Linked DNA regions of Homo sapiens: region 2 is linked to region 1. Evidence: promoter capture Hi-C in human tissues and cell types (Jung and others, 2019). All regions are on one chromosome and are shown on one strand. The core of a region is centred on a gene start or on the middle of the fragment in contact, and the rest is flanking DNA. Distances in the headings are between cores, read along the strand shown.

What was found. Contacts are between HindIII fragments. The study calls those that stand out against the background at their distance.
Region 2: a fragment that was not itself captured here is called in contact with the fragment with the promoter of KCNF1 in region 1 in 1 of the 25 tissues and cell types used here (IMR-90 fibroblasts).

Annotation. Positions count from the first base shown.
Region 1 is chr2:10,909,504-10,915,282 of GRCh38, reverse strand. KCNF1 (potassium voltage-gated channel modifier subfamily F member 1) reads right to left here and starts at 3,349. Exons shown (of 1, transcript NM_002236.5): 1 at 1,058-3,349. The coding sequence starts at 2,856. The coding sequence ends at 1,372. The HindIII fragment of the contact is 13,350 bases long and covers 1-5,779 here.
Region 2 is chr2:10,946,261-10,952,039 of GRCh38, reverse strand. No RefSeq gene overlaps it. Among named protein-coding and RNA genes, the nearest start is that of KCNF1, 37 kb to the right of the region's middle. The HindIII fragment of the contact is 4,058 bases long and covers 1,014-5,071 here.

The DNA.
Region 1 (5,779 bases), core at 2,100-4,599:
CAATGCCCTGCCCCCAACCTCCCCCCACCTACAAGCCCAGCCCAGATCAGTGGAGGTCAGAGTGGGCAACCGTGCAACCCACCTCCCTCCCAGCACAGAGTAATAGAAACAGCTACTATTTATTGAGCACTTACTAAGTGCCAGGTGCCATGCTAAAAGCCACGATTCTCTGCCGTACTTATTAAATATTATATTCCCATTTACCAGATGATCAGAATGAGGGTCAGAGAGATGAATCAGCAGGCCTACGGTCACAAAGTTGGTAAGGGAGTGGTGGAGGAGAGGCCTTAGAGAAAAATGTTTAAGCTCAAAGGCATCTCAGGGTTCCTCTTCACTGCCTGGGCTTCGAACCCAGATCTGTTTGATCTGTTCCCTCGGGGCTCTCAGAGGAGATTCAGTGAGACACCAGGACACGGGTAGGGGCATCCACACTCGGGTTTATCCATTCAGCAGCTATCTCAAAGGTATCAGGGCTAGAAAGATGGGCTGGAGGACAGGCACCCCCACACCAAGGAAGATCAGCCCCTCTCCTGGTCCAAAGACTGTCTCATCATGAGCCCAAGCAGATGCCTCTGTCCCAAGACCACCTGGTGTCAGAGAGAACACATGGGCTTTGGGATCATCAGACCTGGGATTGTTCCCTTCTCTGTGTGACCTTGGGCCTCAGTTTCCTCATCTGTAAAATGGAGATACCTAGCTAGTAGGGTCAATGGAAGGAATAGAAAGAGGTTGTGAAAAGGGCCCGGTGCACGTGATAACTAAATGCTGCAGGCTGCTGGGCGTGCACTGTGAACTCTCCCCCATCCTGGGCCTGCAGGGGGAGCAAGCTTTACCCCAGAAGGAAGCAGCAGGGAAGCACGGCCTGCAGAGCCTCCAGGAATGTGGTAAGGCTCCTTGGCGCCGAACCTGACTATGAGCCCTTCTTTAATTAGTTCCCACTAAAAATAACTCCCCCACCACCCGGCTGCACACCTACCTCCTGGCCTGGCACTGAAGTGTGCCTGAGCTACTCTTGGGGGTGACAGCCAGCCTGTGACAGAACCTACAACACGGAGGGTGCACAGAGCAGGAGGCTTTATTGAGGGAGATACAGAAGCGGGCGTGGGCTCTCGTGCCAGCCAGGCCGCGGCCTCCACTCGTCCCACACGGCCCTGCGGCTCCTGCACACCCCTCCCTCCCGGGCTCCTGGACAGCAGGCAACATAGAGGAGTCTTACCCAGCCTTGGCAGAGGTGCCGGGAGGGCCTTCAGAGTCTGTCCAGGGGAGGGTTGGGGGGACACAGGACAGCCCTTCTGTGCTGTCGATGACATGCCTGCCACATCTACCCATCTGTCCACCGCCTGGTCCATCTCTGCCTGAGGGGCCCTCCTGTCACTTGCAACTCTGGAGCCGGGTCCTGTGGTGCTTCTCCTCGGTCAGGAGGGGGATGAAGGTGTCGCTGTGGGAGAGCTTCAGCCGGCTGCTGCAGCTCGGCGCCTCCTTCCCCGCAGGCTCTGGAGGGAGGTTGTCCAGGTCACTGCGGGAGCCCCCGGTCTTGCCCTCGCCCCCGCTGCTGGAGTTGAGTTCCATCAGCTCCAGCTCGTGCTTGGCCGCGGTCTCCAGGACGCGCTGCTTGTTGTAGTACCTGACAAAGTTGTTGATGATGGGGTGGATGGGCAGGGCGATGGCGATGACACCACACAAGAAGCTGATGGCCGCGTTGAGCTTGCCCAGCGTGGTCTTGGGGTAGATGTCGCCGTAGCCGACGGTGGTCATGGTGATGATGGCCCACCAGAAGGACTGGGGGATGCTCTTAAACAGGGTCTCTGGATGGCTCTGCTCCATGGTGTAGCCCAGGGCAGAGAAGACGAAGATACCCACTGCCAGGTACATGAGCAGCAGCCCCAGTTCCTTGAAGCTGCGCTTGAGGGCATAGGTGAGGGTCTGCAGGCCCGAGGAGTGGCGGGCCAGCTTGAAGATGCGCGCGATGCGCATGATCCGCAGCGCCTGCACGGCCTGCTGCACGTTGGTCAGCTCCATCATGCGGGCACCCAGGTGCGTGAGCGTGAGGCTCACGTAGAAGGGGAGGATGGCCAGCACGTCCACAATGTTCATGAAGGACAGCGCGAAGTGCAGCTTGTTGGGTGACGAGAAGAGGCGCAGCAGGTACTCCAGGGTGAACCAGCCAATGCACGCCGTCTCCACGTTCTCCAGCGTCGGGTGCTCCACGCGGTTGCCCTCGGCGTCCAGCACCTGCAGCTCGGGGATGGTGCCCATGCACATGACCACGGACGAGACGAGGATGAGCAGGAAGGAGAGCACGGCCACCACCCGCGCCGGGCACGACGACTCGGGCTTCTCCAGGAACTTCCAGACGCACTTCTGGCAGCGGCGCCAGCGGCCCTCGGCTGCGTCCACGCCCAGGTCGTCCAGGATGAGCTGCACGCGGCGCGCGATCTCCTCCAGCTCCTCGCGCTTCTCGCTCAGGTGGCTCTTGCAACAGTCGTCCAGGAACTTGAGGTCCACCTTCCAGAAGTCCATCTCGTTCTTGAAGCAGATGGGGCAGATGCCCTTCTTCATGTGGACCTCCCCGAAATAGTACACCTCGATGACACACTTGAAGGCGTCCGGGTCCCTGTCAAAGTAGAACTCGCGCTTGCCGGGGTCGTAGTCGTCGCACAGGGAGAAGATGGTGTCGTAGCCCCCAGCCAAGCAGTTGATGAGCTCCGCCAGCCGGGTCTCAGGGTACTGACTGAGGAGGTCCCCGTACAGCACCTGCCGCACGCCCCCCACGTTGACGACTATCTCTATGTCGTCGCTGGCAGCGGAGCTCTGGCTGCCCGGCTCCGGGAGGCTGCGCTCCCCGGACCCGTCCATCCTCCCCGCGCGCGCCCTCGCAGCCTCCGCCCCGCGCCCCCTGCAGCCGCCGCCGCCGCTGCCGCTGGGGGTCCGGCGGGTGCCACCCGTGCGCTGATCTCGGGGAGAGCCTGGCCGGCGCCCGCCTGCGGGGAAGGGCGGTCACAGCGGGCAGCAGCCTGCGGGGGCGCGCCGCGGGGGAGGCATGCACCCGGCGGCGGGGCTCGGGGCTGGCATCCGGGCGCCCGGGCGAGCCCGCGGGGGCTTTGGCGGCCGCCGGCCTCGCCCGGGGCACTCACCCCGGCTGGCTGGCGGCGCGCTCCGCCGCTTCAGCTCGGCCTCCTGCGGGAGCGGGGTCTCCTCGTGGGCGGCTGGCACCGTCCTCCGCCCCGGGGCGCGCAGGCAGCGGCGGCAGGTCCCGGAGCTGGCGGACCCACGCCGTCCGCGAGGTGCTCGAGGTGTGCAGAGAGCGAACTTGGGCTGGCTTTGCCCGAGCCTTTTCTAAACACAATAGGAATTCCAGCCTGACGTCAGGAGCTTTTCAAACTGTACCCTCTTCTGGTGAAATTCTGCAAGGCACGCGCGGCAGCTGCAGGGGACGGATTAACCCTTGGGCAGACGGGCACAGCTGCCGCGCCCGCCGCCACCACCGCGCACCGCCGGCCCCTCCTCGGGCGCAGCGGGTCACCGAGGGGTTGCGACCTGGCTTGAAGCGGCAGGCATTCTCTCTCACTGCTGTTTGGAGAGGATTAGTGGGGAGAGAATGCTGCCGCCTGTTGCTGGGCAGGAAAATGTGCTCCAGGAAGCCCCTTAGAAGGTGACTCCTATGTCTGGGTCCCTCCTCCGGCCTTAGACCCGCGCCGGCTTTTCCTGGTGGGAGGAAAATCCTGCCTGATCCTTGAAGCGTTTCCTGCCCCATCCCCCCGACCCAGCAATGCCCTGCTGTGTTGGTGGCACTGTCTCACCTTCCCCGCAACGCTGTACAAGGAGGACATCTAGTCCAGCCTCCTGTAGAAGGGAAGGGACTTGCCCAAGGTCACGCGGCGGAATGAGAGCAGAGCTCAGCTTGACCGCCTCCTGATCCCGAGCTTTCCGGCTGTCCCAGCTGACCGACGCCTGCTGTTCAGCAGATTTCAATTCTGCCTTGAAGTCCCTGCCGTCTGGCACCTCCTATCTCTCTGCAGTCCCACACCAAGGCCACTAGCTTCCAGACCCCTAGGGTCCAGTGGCTCCTGCTTCCCCGTTCCTCACTCCTTGACCAAGGCCTGTCTCTTCCTGACCAGTGTCCCACACCCTCCTCTCTTCCAGCCTTTGCAGCCACAGCTGTCCTTCTGTCCTCACTCACCTGAACCACTACAGCAGCTTCCTAACAGTGTCTCTCTCCTCCGGTTCACCACTATCATCAATACTGCAAATTACTGATATCATCTATGGCCTCGAGATCGTGTTAAAAATATTCTGGAGGGAAGAATGAATAGGCAGAGCAGAGGATTTTTAGGGCAGTGAAACGTACCATAATGGCGGATATGTGTCGTTATGCAATGGTCAAAATCCATAGAATGTTCACCACCAGGAGCGAATGTTAATGCAAACTCGGTGCTGGGCGATGATGACGTGTCCATGTGGGGTGGTCCACCATGACAAGTGTCCCACCCTGTGTGAGATGTTGATGCGCAGGGGAGAGCTGTGGAGACAGGGGGCATGTGGGAATTCTCTGTACTTTCTGTTGAATTGTGCTCTAAAATATAAAGTCTATTTAAAAATGTATTCTGTAGGCTGGGTTTTTTAAAACTTAAGGACATGTCCGTTAATGGATTATGAAATCAATTTACTGGGTCACTGACAGTATTCTTTTTTCTTTAATGAGTTAGCATAAAACAGAATATATTAGAATACATCACATGAAGTATTATTTAGTGAAACTTCGTTTTACAAATTTTACTTCATTTCCATTTAGCATCAGACAATGACATGCTACTACAGAGTAGGAAATCGAGGCTCAGAAAGGTTGAGTAATAATAAGAGTTGCCACTTATTCTCCATGGGCATCGGAGTGCAGTCTCTGAGTGCTTTGCATTTTTGTCATTTAATTTCCCAGCAACCCCTAAGGAAACAAGATGTCAGGTAACCTGCCGAGATCACTCTGTGGAGCTGGGATTTAACCATTGTCCTGCTGGGTTCTGAGGCCTATTCTTCTCCCCAGTACAGTGCTACACACCACCTCCTACACACACCCCAGCTTCCTCTTCCAATCCTTATGCATGCTACTCCCCTTATCAGCTGTCCGAGTACCTGCAGGGTTAAGTTCAAATTGCATCCTAGTCTGAGCTTAATGGGCTTCTAAATACCCATTCATTCACTCAGTTATTCAAATATTTATCGAGCTCTTATGGCACATGTGTGCAAATGCACACACACACACATACACACACCACCCTAGGTGTGGGGACAGGGTTCATATTCTAGTAGATAATATGTTTTTTGTAAATAATAATTAACAGTTTGGGGTAATGACCTTAACAAGAGGGGTATATGTATTATACAAGAGTGGTGCTTCCTGAATTTCTCCACAGGGGGCGCTGAGGGGCGGCCATCTGGTTGGAAGAGGGAGGGGCTGCATTTGCCTAGAAGCCCAGCCTTCACTCACTCAGGTTTGCATCGGGGTGTCTGATGAATCTCCCTCAGCAGATAGAGCCCCAATAGCTACTCCTTTGTATCGTCATGAAATACAAGGTGCTGTGGAACCCGGGAGTTTGCAGATACCTGGGCAGGCCCAGGAGAGGCTGGTGCATTAAAATTATACCGCTGGGATTTAGAGAGATCAATGTCATTGAAAGAACGCATTACTAACATGTCCTGAGAGAAGAGGACACGCCAGAGGAAATTCCAGGTGTGGCCAGGCAGAAGCAGGAGCGAGGGGAAAACGAGGCCAGGCCCTCTATTG
Region 2 (5,779 bases), core at 1,793-4,292, 37 kb before region 1:
CAAACAGATGTTCAGTGTGGTAAGCCCTAAGCCCGGGTGGCTTCATAGACTCAGGAAAAGCATTACTCTGGCAGCTAGAAACAACCCAGGTACTGGAGTCGGTTCTGGGTCTTTCTCTCTGGTTGTGTAGTCTTGGCTAAGCCACCTCCCATGTCTGAGCCTAGGAAACCTGTACACATCACAGTCTTCGCACCCACATCCCTGGGTGGCTGTGGCCTCTGGCCTGGGAGTGAATGCACCCGCCTCTTGGTGTGCAGCTGCTAGAGTGTGGCTCTCAGGAGAGAGGTGTCCAGGCTGGCAGATGATGTGTTGACACCTGTGAGTACTGCAGAGGACCCAAAAATTCCCAAGGCCTGGGGGCAGAATGGATGCATGGCCACATCTCCTCCAGCATTGGGTACCCTGAAGGGTCAAGTGGGCACTCACAAAGCCAGGGCCTGAGCAAGGGCAATCTGGGCACCCACACCAAAGAAGAGCAAAGGACCCATCCACATGTCCAGGGGACCACACAAGCCTCCACGCTCCCAGACACACACACAATCACACCCACAACCCACATCTCAGAGGAAGAGCAGTCAGAGATGGGGGATGCCTGGAAGTCTGAGCACTTACCCAAAAGACAATGAATTGCCCTGAGGAAACCAGGCTAGAAGAGACTGAGATGCCGCTTCTTGGCAAATAAAGTTTCTTTATCCTGGTATCCAGTACAGGGAGGCTCCTGAGGAGGGAGATTCCATGGCAGCTGACTGGCTGAGTGCAGTATGACTGGGACACATTGCCTTGTTCCCATCTCCCCTGCTGCGGTGGCATTTCACCAACCCAGTCCAGGTGGCAGCAGTGCCCACCCCTCACTCCTCACTTACCCAGCAGACACCATGTGAGACCCTGGCCAAGTGCGGTAGGGAGGCAGAGACACAGATAGGGCCTCAACCTCTGGGAGCTCATGGTCTAGTACAGAAAACAAGACTCCAACTATGTTGGGGTCTTTTCCAAAGAGCAACCATAGGTAATCTGCTCCTCTGAGAGGGGTGATATAGAAGAGAGGATTGTTCATGTGGGAGACAGTTTTGTGGGACAGAATAGTCGGGAAGGGTTTCCTGGAAGAGGATGGATCTCTGAGGTTAGATGTTGTGTTAGTCCATTCTCACACTGCTATAAAGAACTACCTAAGCCTGTAATCCTAGCACTTTGGGAGGCCGAGGCGGGCGGATCACAAAGTCAGGAGATCAAGACCATCCTGGCTAACATGGTGAAACCCAGTCTCTGCTAAAAACACACACACACACACACACACACACACACACAAAATTAGCCAGGCGTGGTGGCGGGCACCTGTAGTCCCAGCTGCTTGCGAGGCTGAGGCAGGAGAATGGCGTGAACTTGGGAGGCAGAGCTTGCAGTGAGCCGAGATCGCGCCACTGTACTCCAGCCTGGGTGACACAGCGAGACTCTGTTGCAAAAAAAAAAAAAAAACAAAACAAACAAAAAAAAAAAAAAACAACTACCAGAGACTGAGTAATTTATGAAGAAAAGAGATTTAATTGACTTACAGATCTGCATGGCTGGAGAGGCCTCAAGAAACTTAAAATTACGGCAGAAAACGAAGAGGAAGCAAAGCACATCCTACATGGCAGGAGAAAGAGGGAGTGAGTAGGAACACACATTTAAACCACCAGATCTCATGAGAACTCACTATCATGAGAACAGCATGGGGGAAACCACCCCCATGATCCAATCACCTCCCACCAGGTTCCTCTCCTGACACATGGGGATTACAATTCAAGATGAGATTTGGGTGGGGACACAGAACCAAACCATATTAGATCTTGAATTTAGATAGTTGAAAGAAGAGAGGGAGGGCATTTTATGTGTTCATCCATCCATCCAACCATCCATCCATCCATCCATCCACCCACTCACCCATCTACCCAAACATCCATCCATCCATATATACATCCACCCACCCACACTCATCTATCCATCCATACAGACATTCACCCACTCACCCACCCATCCATTTCTCCACTTATCCATCCATCCACCCATCCCTTTACCCATCCATCCATCCATCCACCCAGCCACCCAGCCACCCAAACGTATACCTATCCATCCATTCATCCATTCACTTATCCATCCATCCATCCATCCATCCACCCAGCCATCCAGCCAATGTTATTTGTGCAGTGTTTATGAGCCAAGCACAAACTAGGGGGATTCATGAGATATTTAAGGTTCTACATTGCAATTCCATTTTCAGACACCATCTCTGAGCCCACTGGCTAAAGTGGTCATTTGAATAGACTTGGTCACTTCATGTTGTAATCTATTAGCACTTTTACTACATTTTTTCTTTTTGGCTAGGTCATAATAAAAGCTGTGTGTATTTGAGGCAGGAGCCAATCTGGGAATTTTAAAATCACTTTCCCCTGGTCTTGACAAGCTGATCTCTGCTTCTAATAGAAGGGACATAAGCTTAGGCAAGGCAGAAGTAGCGGAGGAGTCCTTGAAAGATCTATTTCACCTGGAAAATCACATGATATAGTTTTACATTTTAAACAAATCAAATGCAAGGTCTTCCTTTCCAGGTGGGTGCACTGGTTCTCATGATGCTCCTGTGTAGGGAGGGTGTGAGCAGTGGGGCCAGGCAGGCCTGAGCGGAAGCCCAGCTCTGCCACTCACCATGGGGCAGCCTTGGGCATGTCTGCCTGGACCCTGGTTTCCTCACTTACAGAGTGTGGGCACTTCTACCTTCCTGGAGGAACTCAGGCAAGCACTAAGAGAGAGCCTGCCCAGCCCATCCATCTGCCCCAGGTCCTCCAGGCTCAGAAGTTATCACTAAGCCTGGGCCATTCCACTGAGCCAGAGTCATGGACCTCGAGGTCATTGAGAGCCAGCTCTGGAAGCCGGAACCCAAACAGCAATGAAAGTTGCCCAAAGTCCCACAATGAGTTGATCCACCGGGAACAGGAGGAGGCCCCGCCGCCAGCCTCTGTGTTATACTTGGCATCTCGTCCAGGTTTATCGGAGAGGAGATCACACGTCCCTTCCCCAGCCCTCCCAACTCCTCCAGCCAAGACAGGTGCCACCATCTACCCCAGCCCCAGTGTGCTCTGAGTGTGCCGGATGGCCCCTTACCTGTAGCCATGCCATGCCCAAGCCTCTTCCTTCTCACAACAACCCAAAGAAGACTCTTGGGGGCTGGCATTGCCCGTTGACCAGAGACCTCACTCCTCTCAGCAGAGCAGCCCAATCCCTTGCCCTCCCCGGTTCCCACCTCGTTTCCTCTCCCGGTGTCCTCCCCACCAACTCCACACCAGGCACCCCAACACATCCTCAAAGGCCGCATGCGAATGATGTCCCCTTCTGCCCTTGATACAGTCAGCCTCACCCTTGTTCTTGTCACCACTGGCAGGTCTGTAGGGGGCTGCACACCCTTGACAGCCCCCCTGAATCCCTGCCATGGCCCCTAACTGGTCTCCTGTTGTCCATTTCTCCTCTCCCAGGCCATTAGTGCCCTATCTTCAGAGTTTTCCTTTTCGGCAATTATCTGACTTGTCCATTCCTGCTTTAGACAATCCAGTAACTCCTGGCAGCTGTCAGGACAAGGCTCATACTCCAGGAGTGAGGCCCCAGGCCTTCAGGGCATGGCCCCTGCTGATGTGGCTCCGCACTAGGCCCCGTCCTCAGATGCACTCCCTTCGTCCTCTGCTTGACGGGTCCCCTGTGGTTCACCTCTAACGTCTCCATGTCAGCAAAGCTGCCCCTCTATGCCCAACCCCACCACCACCATCTAGTAGTTCACATGAGCATGAAGCCACATAGCTATGAATGAAGTGCAGTAATGAAGGCGAGTTGTTATCACTGTTGAACGGATGAGAGAAAAGAGTCTCAAAGAGAGGGATGTGCTTGGTCATGGCAAAGAGGGAGGCATGCTTGGTCACACAGAGAATGTGCAGCAGAGTCCTGGGCCTCCGCTCCAGAATTTAAAACTGTCCCCAGCAGTCCCAGGGGCTTGGTGTTGATTTCTGCTGGAAATAGTTAGAAAGGCTGGCTGCAGTAATTACCGTGTCTTCTGCTCTCTGAGGGGCTGCTATCTTTGGCAAGCTAATTACTAATAAGGTTTGCTCACCAGCCAGTGTAATCACCAGAGAAAACCATCTTTAAGGACTTATTCTGCCCAATTTGAGGTTTGATCTTGCAGCTGCAGTGTTCCGAGAGGCTCGGTTCTGTGACAGGGGCGTCAGTGCAGAGGACCTCCTGGGCTGGCTAGGCCTCTCCGTGCCTGCAAAGCAGCCCCCCGCTGCCCACTCCTCCCCAGGGACCTTCCCAACCTCTAACGGCAGCTTCCCTGTCTGCCGTCCAGGCTTAAATCCCAACTCTGCCAAGAATCTGGGGTTAATTTCTTGACATGAAGGTGAGGACAGTAATCCATGCCCTAGAGGGTGTTGTGAGAACAAGTGAGGCAGTGGCTGCAGAGGAGGTAGTGTGGGGCTGGGCACCCAGTAGCCCCCAGCCAGGGGTCCCCCTGCCACCCGCTTCCCATGGGAGACCACAGCTCAGCTGGGTCCCTTCCCTTCTTGGCTTGCAGACCAGGAGTATTGTCTGCTCCCCATAAAACCATATGTGCCCAGGAAAATCTGGAATGATGTTCCCCAACACGAGAGCGATGATTCATTGTCTCTGTGTGGTTAGATTTACATTTTTATTTGAACCTTTATGAATTATTTTCATTTTGTGTAATAAGCATGTGTCATGCTTATGATCAGAAAGAACAAGCTCAGGAAGTTTTTTCTGAGCGAGGTGCCCAGTACCCCTGCTTCCTCATACCAAGGGACCTGCAGGAAGGACACCGGGGCAGGCTGGGCTCCTCCTTTGCACTCACGGCGGAGAGAAATGACACACACATGTGTCGGAGGTGGGGGTTCCCAGCTGCCTGCCTACGGCCGGCTTCTGTCATTTGTACTGAAGCATGTTCTGCTCTTCCTGGCTCATTTGAGTGCTGAGAGCTGAACTCAGGCTGCTGGGCCGTGCCTCCATGTGATCAGTCACAGGAGTTCGGTGCAGTCATTAAATACTTTCCTTGTCAAAATCTCAGAAGCAAATGGAGATGACTGGCTTTTTGTAATATATACATATTTCCTCCTCCAAATCAGTTCCATTGATCTAACAGTTGGTGTTATTCTTTTTTAGTTGCGACTGCAAATCATAAATATGGATTTAAGAATTTTCTTTTAAAGGCTTAGAAATATTTCTCTGTCTCCAAAGTTCCTGAGGTAAGAAAGGCCAGTTGTCTGCTCACGGGACGTTGCCTCTGGTCAGGGCTCAGAGGAAAGAGATGCAGATGGGCCAGGTTCTGGGGCTGCGCACACTCTGCTCTGATTGTCTTCTTACCTGGGACCACCCCCTTGCTCTCTGGGCCTCCGTGGCACCCCCATTTGCAAGAAAAGCAGTGAGGCTCAATGAGCTTTCAGGCCCAGCACCTGGCCCAAGCCTCACGGCTGTGGCTGTGGCTGTGAGGAAGGCTGCCCAGTTGGCCCTGCCCAGCCAAGAGACCAGCAGGGCACATACCCACAGATCCTAACCCCGAAGGGTAGAGGGCATGGTGGGCACCCCAGGGGGCTTCAGGGTCAGTGCTATAAGGTTTAAGTGAGTCTTTCTGTGCTTCCAGTAGGCTGTAGGAAACTCTCTGTGCCTCAGTTTCCTCATCTGCAAAGCAAGGGTTATGGAAATAATACTGAGGTAAGAGGCAGGACTCAACTCTAGAGGCAGGGCTAGGACA